Linked DNA regions of Homo sapiens: all the other regions are linked to region 1. Evidence: promoter capture Hi-C in 16 types of primary human blood cells and fetal thymus (Javierre and others, 2016). All regions are on one chromosome and are shown on one strand. Each heading gives the region's core, a stretch centred on a gene start or on the middle of the fragment in contact. The rest is flanking DNA. Distances are from core to core; before and after follow the strand shown. Region 1 holds the start of TMEM267 (transmembrane protein 267). Region 2 has its middle 88 kb from the start of SELENOP. Region 3 has its middle 77 kb from the start of FLJ32255. Region 4 has its middle 48 kb from the start of FLJ32255.

The links. Contacts are between HindIII fragments. The CHiCAGO score rates a contact against its expected background, and 5 or more counts as called.
Region 2: a fragment that was not itself captured here is called in contact with the fragment with the promoter of TMEM267 in region 1 in 1 of 17 cell types (non-activated CD4 T cells); the score reaches 6.2 in non-activated CD4 T cells.
Region 3: a contact is called between a fragment that was not itself captured here and the fragment with the promoter of TMEM267 in region 1, in 1 of 17 cell types (naive CD4 T cells). The highest score is 6.0, in naive CD4 T cells.
Region 4: a fragment that was not itself captured here is called in contact with the fragment with the promoter of TMEM267 in region 1 in 2 of 17 cell types (activated CD4 T cells and naive CD4 T cells); the score reaches 5.6 in activated CD4 T cells.

The regions. Positions count from the first base shown.
Region 1 is chr5:43,482,411-43,485,352 of GRCh38, reverse strand. It overlaps TMEM267 (transmembrane protein 267), which reads left to right and starts at 1,488. Exons shown (of 3, transcript NM_022483.5): 1 at 1,488-1,531. It overlaps C5orf34-AS1 (C5orf34 antisense RNA 1), which reads right to left and starts at 1,434. Exons shown (of 3, transcript XR_007058763.1): 1 at 1,352-1,434. RefSeq lists enhancers at 1,159-1,348, 614-1,457 and a silencer at 1,403-1,633. The HindIII fragment of the contact is 3,795 bases long and covers 1,089-2,942 here.
Region 2 is chr5:42,898,552-42,901,493 of GRCh38, reverse strand. No RefSeq gene overlaps it. Among named protein-coding and RNA genes, the nearest start is that of SELENOP, 88 kb to the right of the region's middle. The HindIII fragment of the contact is 1,105 bases long and covers 848-1,952 here.
Region 3 is chr5:42,915,099-42,918,040 of GRCh38, reverse strand. It overlaps the pseudogene PRELID3BP6. Among named protein-coding and RNA genes, the nearest start is that of FLJ32255, 77 kb to the left of the region's middle. The HindIII fragment of the contact is 4,686 bases long and covers 1-2,942 here.
Region 4 is chr5:42,943,811-42,946,752 of GRCh38, reverse strand. No RefSeq gene overlaps it. Among named protein-coding and RNA genes, the nearest start is that of FLJ32255, 48 kb to the left of the region's middle. The HindIII fragment of the contact is 7,406 bases long and covers 1-2,942 here.

The DNA.
Region 1 (2,942 bases), core at 239-2,738:
CCGGAGAATCCCTTGAGCCCAGGAGGTCAAGGCTGCAGTGAGCTATGATTGCACCACTGCACTCCAGCCTGGGTGACAGAGGGAGACCCTGTCTCAAAAAAAAAAAAAAAAAAAAAAGGAATAAACATCTACAGGCAGTAGACCGACTACAGAGAAAAGAACTACTATTACATTGTTTGGGTTTGCATGAAGCCATCTATGTTGTTCCTCAATAGCTCCATAAAGCCTAGATTATAAGACTTTGTACCACACTGCCAAAAGGGTAATGCCAAATTATTACTGCATTCAGAAGGAGAAAATTTGTCCTTAACATGGCTAAAAGCACTCAAAATTATAAATACATTTGCTGAAAGATACTTTAAATTCTCATTTAAGGTGTGTGGGAGTTAAAAGGTGTTTAATTTTCCCTGTCAGTTGGGTGTTTTACATTGGCTAAGAACCAAGACTGTGACAAGAAATGAGTTCTATGATTGAGAAACTCTAAGATTCTGGGGGTGGCCTAGGAGTTTACTTTGAGATTGAAATTTATTTTCTATGGTCAACTGTATAATTACGATGATACCACCCCTTGCTTTCCATCTGACACTTGGTTTGAGAAACTGTAGGTAGGAAAGGGAAAGAAGAATGTCCCTCCTTGGGCCTCTTCTTTTGGGCCTGTGCTTCCTAGAGTCAAATGTCAAGCTGGTATTTCCTTGGTGCTAAGAGCAACCACCACTCTGAGGCAGAGACGGGATGGGACCTAGCCAAAGTCCCAGTAAACAAACTGTATCTTGTAAGCGCAATTTAATTAGGGTCAAACTATTCTGTATGGACTTGCTTTTTCGACTTCTGAGGATTTAGTAGTCATGATTAAGTGCTGTCACGCTACTGCGATCTACAAACAGTAGCTCCACAACATCCGCCCGCATCGTGGCAAAGAATTATCAAGAAATCCCCAAGGGGGCGGTGAGGAGCCGCCGGTCGGCCAGGTCGCCCGGTCCCTCAGTCTGGTGAAAAGCTCCGTTGCCCACCCTGAGGGCTTCGCGGAAGGAAGTTGGCCGTATCGCTGCACCTTAGAGATGCGACGGCCGAGGCTCCCAGCTCAAGCTTCTGGTAGTAAGGCCTGTGTGCCTGGCATTCGGGGAGGCCACTTTTCTATCCCCAGCTTCCGGGCCACCACTTGGGTGCGTCGTGGGGATGTCGGCAGCTACGTTTGCGGCACAGCTCCGGCTAAACTGAAAAACGAATCCTCAGGTTTGACAAAACTAAACTAAAAAGACACTTTTCTCCTCTCACTCTGACGTCCCAAAAGTTTCCTTTTTAGGGGTCGGGGCCTACGGTGGGCGAGGAGAAACTCGAGGTATCTACCCACCGCACCAAACAACTCATGCGTCGCTTCCTTTCGACTTGGAGCTGGCCAGTATCCCGGCGTCCTCTCGGCCGACGCTGCGGTCTGAGGCCACTCTGGCCGGCAGCCGACGTCTCTATGGCTCCGACCGAGGGGCGGAGCCGCTGCTCGAGCTGCTGCTGGATTGAACTCAGAGAAGCCGGGGTGGGTATGGCTGAGCCGCTGCGTGGGACTGAGGGGAGGGGGCCGGGTGGACGCCGCGGAACTGCGTCCTGAGGTGGGAGACCGGAGGTGGGGGACCACTGAGTCTGATGTCTGGAGGGTCCGGTTGCGGGTCGGAGGGCGTGCTGGAACAGCCGCCACGCGGGAGCCAGGAGCCTCCTGGGTGCGTGTGACCCACGAGCCGGCACCGTCCCGCGGCCCTGGGGTCTGCGAGGAGCCCTGGCGCCGCCCTCCGGCTTCGCGCTTTTTCTAGATCCCTAGAACCCCAGCCCTCCGCCTACGCTCCGCGCCCCTGGCCTTTTTCTGGCCCAGGGTGGGGTTCCGGGAGTCGTGCCGAAGGAGCCCATTGCCGTCCTTAACCGGTTGTAAGAGCCTTTCGTGCCCCGGAGCCTTTGAGGCTTGAATGCTGAGAGTGTGACATGGTCCTTTCCCTGCAGCCTGGCCCATTTTTTTAAATGACATTTGAAAAATTATTGCATCACACCAGACTCAGAAAAGGATGTCTGGGAACTTCTGAGGCTTGAAACATGTTGAAATACAGAATTTTGTTTTATTCGTAATGGGCATAGGAACTAAACATTTTAAGTGCAGACATCTGATGGCTATAAAAAGTTTCAGTGAAAGTAAGCAAGATTTGTGTTTCCTTTGTCAGTTAGTTGCATCAGATTTGGCATCTGCTTTTGATATTTTTCCATTAAAGAAATTAAATATATTAAGTTTACAGCAACTACAGTTCAGTGAAGAAGACTTACTGGTAAAGCATAATAAAGGCGGTTTCTGGAATTTGGACCGTGTTTTGACCTTGGGTTTTTGCATATAATGTGTAAGGTTGGTGGGGAAGAGGGAAAGTTAAAACAGATGACACTTACTTAGAGAATGTATCAGCTCTTATTTGTTTTGACAGAAATAATGTCTAAGAGATTATTAGCAAACAATACATGATAGCGTATAATTAAAGTGACCAGCTAATTATATGTTTGTGGAATTCAGGAAGGAGAAAAGTACTGTTATGTATACTCTGAAGGCCCCAAAGTTAGTGGTATTTGCTATAAGGGGGATGGGGTGTGACAAAGTTTGGCCATTGCAGAAAATGGCTTCTGCGAGTCATAGGGAGGAATTTATAATATGTCAGTTATGTCAGAGAAGCTATCCCAAACAGTATCTTTAGTTCATAGGCTGCGGATTTATTATGTGATTATCTCTTGTATTAGTAAAATGGAATATTTATTAAATACCTTGAGCACACTGGATTTTTAAACATGACAAGTTTAAAAGAGATCACTACTCTTAAGGAACCTTATCAACAAAAGTGAATATGTAAAAGGAGGTTCGGGAGTCCGTTTTATTTGTAGGGGGAGGAATAGGAAGTGGAAAAGGAAATAAAAAGTTTAAG
Region 2 (2,942 bases), core at 151-2,650, 580 kb after region 1:
AATCATTCCCTGACATTCAGTCTAAAATCTATGTCTACACATTTTTATCATATTTTAAGTGAATTTTATCCCATAATAGTTTTCTGCTTATACTATATGAGTGTTTTCTTTTCCTAAAACCCATAAAAGAAATTGACCAGTAATATCACATTTAATATGGTGAGTCTTAATCCATAGTTGAACCATTTGAATTTAGATTTGTCCATCTGAAGATAAAATTGAATCTCAAGTTTTTGCAATATATCAATATATCCATGGTCACAGGACAAATAATAATATGTAAATGTTTCTTAAAAGTACTTTCAGAATGAGCTGAGGGTCTCTTAGCAGATGACAAAATACTATTGTAAGGTGTTCTCTGTTTCTTTGAAGAGAGAAAGGAATTCATCCTGCTTCCCCCTGCTCTGCTGAAAATGTATGAGATGTGGCCTAACTTTGTAGTTGTCATGCTAACTTAAATGCATGAAAATCTGTGAATACCAACTGAATGCTAGTGTTCCCTGCCTCTTCTGTTTGGTACACTGGGGTTTTTGTTGTGAGAATTGTGTTATCTCCCAACAGTGGATATATTCTGTCCTTTTCTTCCTCCCAAGTGAACTGTGCTGAGAAGCAGTTATTCATAAGGCCTCTCAGAAGATGGTTTCATGAGATCAAACAACCATTAGTGTTCACAGCGGTTTCCAATTTGTGGAGTCAGTGTTCATACAAGTAGTAGGGGATTCTGTTTAAGAGAATTATAAAAATGTTTTAAGACAAATGTTTTACAAACTCTTTGGAAGTTTGCCTTACAGTTAAACTTTATTGGTTTAATAATAAAGTCACCTCTGGTCATACTTGATACTAAGCTTGAACAACTAGGAAGCACAGCATTGAATATGCTCATCCCTGACCCTCTCCTTTTTCTTCTCACTCCCACTTCCTAAGGACAGCACTCTTGAATAAAGCAATCTCACATGAGTGTTTATTTCAGTAATGTTTTTTGGGGGAAGCCAGGCCATTAAAACATACCTTTCTGCTCACCTTATGTACTTCACTGTTTTTCCCCTGCTGTTGGAATCCTCAAAAATTCACTCTGTATTAAAATTTGTTTCAGAGTACCTTCAAAAATAGAATGACTCAGGCCAATCTTGACTCTCGATATGCTGCAAATGAGACATGTTCCCTACATTTAAACAGTCTTTGACTGAGTGGTACAACTACATAGAAAGTCCTTTTTAAATACCAACAAGTTTAAGTATTTATACGACCTTTTCGTGCGTCATTCCAGTGCCCCCTCTTCAATTTTTTCATCATCCAATATCTTTCCCAAACCACAGGGCCAAATCAACTATATGTTAACATTCTGAATCCAGTAATATACTTTAAAAAAATGCATCATAATCTAATGGAGTTTATCAGGAACTCAACTTTGGTTTGGCGTTTGAAAATCAATCTCTATTATTCTCCACATTAACAGCAGAAAAAATATACGATAATCTCAGTAGATACAAAAAATCTTTTAAAAAATTCAACCCTGCTTCATTAATATAAAAGTCATCTTAGCAAATTAGAAATTGCAAATTCCCTTAATTTGATAAAGCATTTCTATATGAGATGTACATCTAACATCTCATCAAATTGTGAAATACTGAAAACTGCCAATTTCTTATTGAAATAAGAAAACTGCCAATAACTGGACCCATTCTCTCACACCCTGCCCCACCCTATTACAGCCTGATCCAATAGAAACCCAAGGAGTTTCAATAGTGCCTTCTGGAATGATAAACTTTCCACCACAACCCTATCATGGTTTAAAGCAATTAGCAAGGTAATAAGTGTTAATCCCCACATGATTGGATTCTGGTATCCGACTTCCTGTACAAGACAGAATGCTATAAAAACCCACAGTCAGGGATGAATTGAGCCATTTGCTCTTTTCCTAGACTAGCTACTTGGCCGGACCTGGTCAAGCTTTGGGAGGCTGAGGCTATGGAGTTCCATCCATCAACTCTGGAAGAGCTGTCTTGGAGGCAGGCAGGTCCAGAGCCCCACATGCCATGGGACCTGAACCGAGAGCAAGTCTGGGCCTGGGCACTGGATAACTTCCCTGTGCTGAGCCGCCACTCCTGTCAATGCCATCAGCTCTGTGGGAGCTCTGCTGCGAGCTGGCTGCTGCACTGAGCCTCCACCAGGCACGGAGCCCTTCCCGGAGATGAGAGGGGCCAAAAACGGCCTCCAGACTCCCATTTTGAGGAGTCAATGGCTGAAACCACAGACGGTCTTCAGTCCCCTCAAGAAGACGCAGATGCTACCGACGGTGAGTTCCAAAGCGGCCTGAAGCTGCCTGGAGATGCCAGCGCCTGCGGAGGTGGAAGTACACATGCCCAGGGCGCTCTCTGCAGTTCAGGACCCTCCCACCCCGCCCCGGAAGCTGCTGAAAACCCAGGGTTCCATCAGGAAGGAACCCGGAAAGGAGAGGAACCCCAGCCTTTCTGCAGGCCTGCGACACGACCTGCTTAACTGCTGCCCTGGAAGGAGCCCGAGGCACTCCAGTGGGTGCCCTCATGGCGTCGCTGCGGACTTTTACACTGGAACTGTTCCTTGCACGCATAAGAGCCTTGAGGCCTCTGCTGTGGAGATCATTCTTTAATTTGTTCTTCCTCTCCTGAACGTCCTGAACATTTTTCATTTAGAAAAACTCTCTTCATGGAATGAATAATATGCAGTGTGCTAAGGAACCCTTCTTTTAGATCTGCTTAAAATTGTGATGGTTCTTTTATTGAAATTATACACATTGTTTAAAGCCTTTTCCTTATTTTCCACCTGTGAAATCAAGACCGGTAAATCAAGATTGGTATAGATGGGCCCAAAGCTGACAGAAAGGGGGCAGGGATCCAACTCAGAGCTTTTTTTTCCTTCTTCTTTTTCCTTTTTTTTTTTTCTTTTGAGGTGGGGTCTCACTT
Region 3 (2,942 bases), core at 197-2,696, 570 kb after region 1:
TATTGCCGGCTTGGAGAGACGTGGGGTACTTGTCTACACACATTCATTATCAATTCACTACGAAGGCTGCTGCAGCCACCACCGGAGTTCTTATGCCTCCTCTTGTGAAAGCCATCAATTCTTCATTTTTTAACATGTAATTTATGTATGACCCATTCCAGTGCTTCCGTGCCTTTGATAGCATTTGAAGATATCCTACTTGCCATCAGTCCTTCAAGATAACTGCTGAGGCTGCCTCCTTTCACTGATTATGGCTTCTTGAGTCAAAATAATTTTTTTCTGGGTCCTGAGGATGTGGTTTGTATATAAGTCTCTCACCTAATGAAACCATATTTTAAGTGAAATATTAGTAGATTTAAGTTCCATTGTTTTCTCTATAGGATTAACTACAGAATATTCTAGCACATATGTTTTGGTTCTTTCTGTACCAATAAGAGACTTGTAGTTCCCACTCTGTGCAGAGAAGTCTGTGGCTGTGCAACTCTTCATTGGGATCTATATGTGTGTCCAACACATCAACCCACACCATGCCCTGGTTCATAGGGCTTTTGGGTATTTGTGCATTGCAACTGTTGTAACAATTTCCCACAGGTGATCAAAGACGTGCTCTGAAGTCCAGATCTTGATGATGCAGGCAGTCCAGGAGATGTCTGGGCAGTGCAGGGGAAAATGAGGCAAAGAGGCTACACCTGCCCCACTGCACCCCCAGCATGCCAATCAGCTTCGCAGTAGGCAGGCACCATCGGCCTCATGTGAAGGACATCCCAACCCCCTCTTCCAGCCCTTATTACAATGTAAACTTTAAACTATTTAAAAGAGGGGTCCCCAACTCCCCAGACAGCGTGCCTGTACTGGACCCTGGCCTGTTAGTGAGGCAGGAAAATAGGGTCTGGAGGCCGGGAACATAAGGCCCATTCACACTTCAGCTATAACAGGAAATATCCTCTCCATAGGGCATACACCCAGTAAATGACTTTGAAACTTTACTTCATCCTCTTCATTTACATAGGGCGTACCCCAAATAGAGGGTATTTAAACTCACAAAAACTCTGTAACTTTGAGCCCCTATGCGCAGGCCCACTACCACACTGTGGAGTGTACTTTTGTTTTCAATAAATCCCTTCATTCCGTCCTTGCTTTGCTTGCGCATTTTGTCCAATTCTTTCTTCAAGACGCCAAGAACCTGGACACCCTCTACCGTTAGCATTAAGAGCCCCGTGGCACAGCAGGATGGGAGTGGCCAGCAGCCCAGCGTTACCACCTGAGCTCCACTTCTTGTCAGATCAGCAGAGACATTAGATTGTCGTAGGTGCACGAAGCCTACTGTAAACTGCACATGCAAGGGATCTACCTTGTGCGCTCCTCCTGAGAATCTGATGCCTGATTATCTGAGGTAGAACAGCTTCATCTCCAAACTATCCCTGTCTACCAACCCCCCATCCATGGAAAAATTGTCTTCTATAAAACCAGTCCCTTGTGCCAAAAGGGTTGGGGACTGCTGATTTAAAGAACACTGTTAATGTCTGTTCCCTGCCTTCATCTGGAGGACCAGGGTCAGTTTTGAAGCAACTCCAGCAAGTGATCCACCCAGCTGTCCCCTTCCACCGTGCTAGTATCCACAGCTCCTCAAAGGCCCCCTGGAATTTAAACTAAAGCATGATCATGCCACTGCACACCAGCCTGGGCTACCCAGGAAGACTAGCGAGACCCCAGCTCAAAAAAAAAAAAAAAAAAAAAAAAAAAAGCTCTGAGCTGCGTCCCTGTCCCCTTTCTGTCTGCTTCAGGCCCATCTATACCAATCTTGATTTACCAGCTCAAAATCAATTTCACGGGTGGAGAATAGGGAAAGGATTTAATCAATGTGTACAGTTTCTATGGAAGAACCACAGCAATTTTGAATACATCTGAAAGAAGAGTTCCTTAGCACATTGCATATTATTCATTCCATGAAGAGAGTTGTTCTAAATGAAAAATGTTTAGGACGCTCAGGAGAGGAAAAACAAATTAAGGAAAGATCTCCACAACACAGACATCAAGGCTGTTATGAGTGCAGGCACAGTTCCAGTGCAAATGTCCACAGGGACAGCATGAGGGTCCCCATTGGAGTGCCTCGGACTCCTTCCAGGGCAGCAGTTGAAGCAGGTCGTGCTGCAGGCCTGCAGAAAGGCTGGGGTTCCTCTCCTTTCCGGGTTCCTTCCTGATGGAATCCTAGGTTTTCAGCAGCTGCCGGAGGCGGCCTGGGCTGCAGCGGGTGCCCTGGGCGTGTGTACTTCAACCTCCACAGGCGCTGGCATCTCCAGACAGCTTCAGGCCGCTTTGGATCTCACCGTCGGTAGCATCTGTGTCTTCTTGAGGGGACTGGAGCCCGTCTGTGGTTTCAGCCATTGACTCATCGACATGAGAGTCTCGAGGCTGTTTTTGGCCCCTCTCATCTCCGGGCAGGGCTGCGTGCCCGGTGGAATCGCAGTGCAGCAGCCAGCCCGGAGCAGAGCTCCCGTAGAGCTGATGGCATTGGCAGGAGTGGCGGCTCTGCACAGGGAAGTTATCCAGCGCCCAGGCCCAGGCTTGCTCTTGGTTCAGGTCCCATGGCGTGTGGGGCTCTGGACCTGCCTGCCTCCAAGACAGCTCTTCCAAGGTTGATGGTTGGAACTTCATAGCCTCTTCCTGGAAAGGCTTGACTAGGCCCAGCCATAGCTAGTCTAGGAAAAGAGCAAATGGCGCAGTCCATCGCTGACTGTGGGCTTTTATAGCATTCTGTCTTGTACAGGAAGTCGTATACCAAAATCCAATCATGTGGAGATTAACACTTATTCACCTTGCTAATTGCTTCAGACTGTGATAAGGTTATGGTAAAAATTTTATCATTCTGCAAGGCACTATTTAAAGTCCTTGGGTTTTTACTGGATCAAGCAGTAATAGGGTGGGGCAGGGGGGTGAGAGAA
Region 4 (2,942 bases), core at 151-2,650, 540 kb after region 1:
CTGATCTTGGCTCACTGCAACCTCCACCTCCTGGGTTCAAGTGATTCTTGTGATTCAGCCTCCTGTGTAGCTGGGATTACAGGCGTGCACCACCACGCCTGGCTAATTTTTTGTATTTTTAGTAGAGATGGGGTTTTGCTATGTTGGCCAGGCTGGTCTTGAACTCCGGGCCTCAAGTGATTCACTCACCTTGGCCACCCAAAGTGCTGGGATTACAGGAGTGAGCCACCCCACCTGGCCCACAATGGTAACTTTTTTAAATGATCTAAAACCAACTCTATACTCATAAATTCAACAAGTTAGATAGAATGGATCAACCCTGCAAGATCCACAGTCATCGTTAATGATATTGAATTCATGGTCAAAAAATCTTCCAAAAAACAAACCTAGAGTTTCTTACAATTTCATTGACTATTTTTTACCAAATATTTAAAGAATAAATAAGATGAATTCTACATGACTTATTCTAGTAAATAAAAGAATATGGAATACTTCCCAATTTATTTTATGAGATCAGCACTTTCCTGGCACACACAGTACGCTAAGAGAAAGCTACTGACCAATATTGCACCTAAGCATAGATGCAGAAATCCTCACCAAAATACTAACAAATGGCAGTCAGAAATATATGTTAAAGAACAATACCATGCCTTGGGCCAGGCGCAGTGGTTCACGCCTGTAATCCCAGCACTTTGGGAGGCCGAGGCCGGCGGATCACGAGGTTAGGAGATCGAGACCATTTTGGCTAACACAGTGATACCCTGTCTCTACTAAAAAAAAAAAATACAAAAAATTAGCCGGGGGTGGTAGTGGGTGCCTGTAGTCCCAGCTACTTGGGAGGCTGAGGCAGGAGAATGGCGTCAACCCGGAAGGCGGAGCTTGCAGTGAGCCGAGACCGCACCACTGCACTCCAGCCTGGGCGACAGAGCGAGACTCCGTCTCAAAAAAAATAAAGAACAATACCACGCCCAAGTAAGATTATTCCAGATGGAGGGCTAGTTTAATGCTCGAAAGTCAAATAATATAATTTGCCTTATTGATAGCCTAGATGAGAAACACCGTATAATCCTATCAAATGATGCACAAAAAGCACTTAAAATCTATACCATTTATGATTTAAAATTTAAAAACCAACTCTCAGCATCATGGGAACAGAGGGAATTTCCTCAACCAAAAAAAATCTACAAAAACCTATAGCAAACGTGGTATGTAATAATGACAGACTCAACGTTTTTCCCATGGAATCAGGAACAAGGCACAAATATCCACTCTCACCATTTCTATTCAACAATGTACTGGAATTGTTTGCCAGTGCAATAAGGTGAGAAAATGTGTTAAAAATCATAAAAATTGGAAGCGAAACAATGAAAATATCCATACCTGCAGAATATGAGTCTATGTAGAAAATCTTAAGGAGTCTAAAAGAAAAGTTCCAGCACTCATGAGTGAGTTTAGCAAGCTCTCAAGATATAACAGTGCAAACCCTCAGAGGGAAAAGTTCCAGGGACTTGGAACAAGAGAATTTCCTGCACTAAGTTCTCAGGCCTGCTGCCTGTTAACCACATTTCCTGTAGGCCCAGCCTGTGAGTCACCTGCCATGCACAACTCCTGGCTGATCCTTCCCTCCAGTCTCTGGATAAGACACACTACTTCTGCCCTGCAATCAGCAAACCTAGGCGACCCAGAGTCCCGTGCCAGTCCTGGCACCAGCAACCAGCCGCCCCGCTCCTATGCCCCGTCCTTACCTTCATCAGCAGGAACCCAGGTAACAGAAATTTAACATTTGTGTCCTATTTTATTTTATTTTATATTTTTGAGACAGAGTTTTGCTCTTGTTGCCCAGGCTGGAGTGCAATGACACCATCTCGGCTCACTGCAACCTCTGCCTCAGGGTTCAAGCGATTCTCCTGCCTCAGCCTCCCGAGTAGTTGGGATTACAGGCATGCGTCACCATGCCTGGCTTATTTTGTATTTTTAGTAGCGACGGGGTTTCACCATGTTGGTCAGGCTGTTCTCGAACTTCTGACCTCAAGTGATCCACCCGACTGGGCCTCCCAAATTGCTGGGATTACCGGCGTAAGCCACCGCGCCCGGCCACATTTGTGTACAATTTTATTGAGAAGGGGAAAGAAAATGGCACAAACTGATTTGAAGGCAAAACTTCTTCCATCGCGTTTGAGAGAACTCAGGTGTTACTGTAACATCATCTGTTACAAGACGATCGTCAATGGAAGGATCTCAGAGAAAATCTCAGGGCTCAGGACATCAAAGGCGGCGGTGGACACCTTCTTAGGGCGTCTGCCCTCAAGCGCATGCAATCTGCAGCCAGCAGTCTTGGAACTTCGGTTGGTGGCTTCGGCGGGACAGTAGTAGGCTGACACTCTGAAAGGTCTCCTCGGACGGACGTCTCCGGCCCCAGTCGTCTGTCCACGAAGCAAGGGGCGAGTTGAGAGGGATGCTGCGGGGGCAGGCGTCCGTTGGGACCCTCTGCAGTCTCCAGCTCTCCAGAGGGCGCCTGCGGCTACTCCTATTTGCCGGTGCCGGATTCAGAGCGGGCGACTTTGAGCCCCTTCTCAAAGTGCGCTGCGGTCTGGGAAAGAGATCTTTTCGCCTGCAGTTTCAGCAAAGAAGCACTCAGGGAGCGGAAAGTAGGTCGCAGTGGAACCTAGAAAGCTGTCCCAAGAGAGCTCGCAGTGGTAAGGACAGGAAGGGAGCATTCAGGACACCGAATTTACTGAGCTCAGGGCTGGAGGCGGCTGGCCGCGCCTACTCCTTTGTGGAATCCCGGGCCTGCCAAACTCCGAGGGGAGACAGCAACTTCATCGCGTCCTTCTTTCACCAGCTGACACCGGGTATCTGGGATTCAGAAATCAACATCTTTTGCGTTTTTATACTCTTCTGGTCTCATGAGCGGTCCAAATTAGATTACAGGGAGGTGGGTG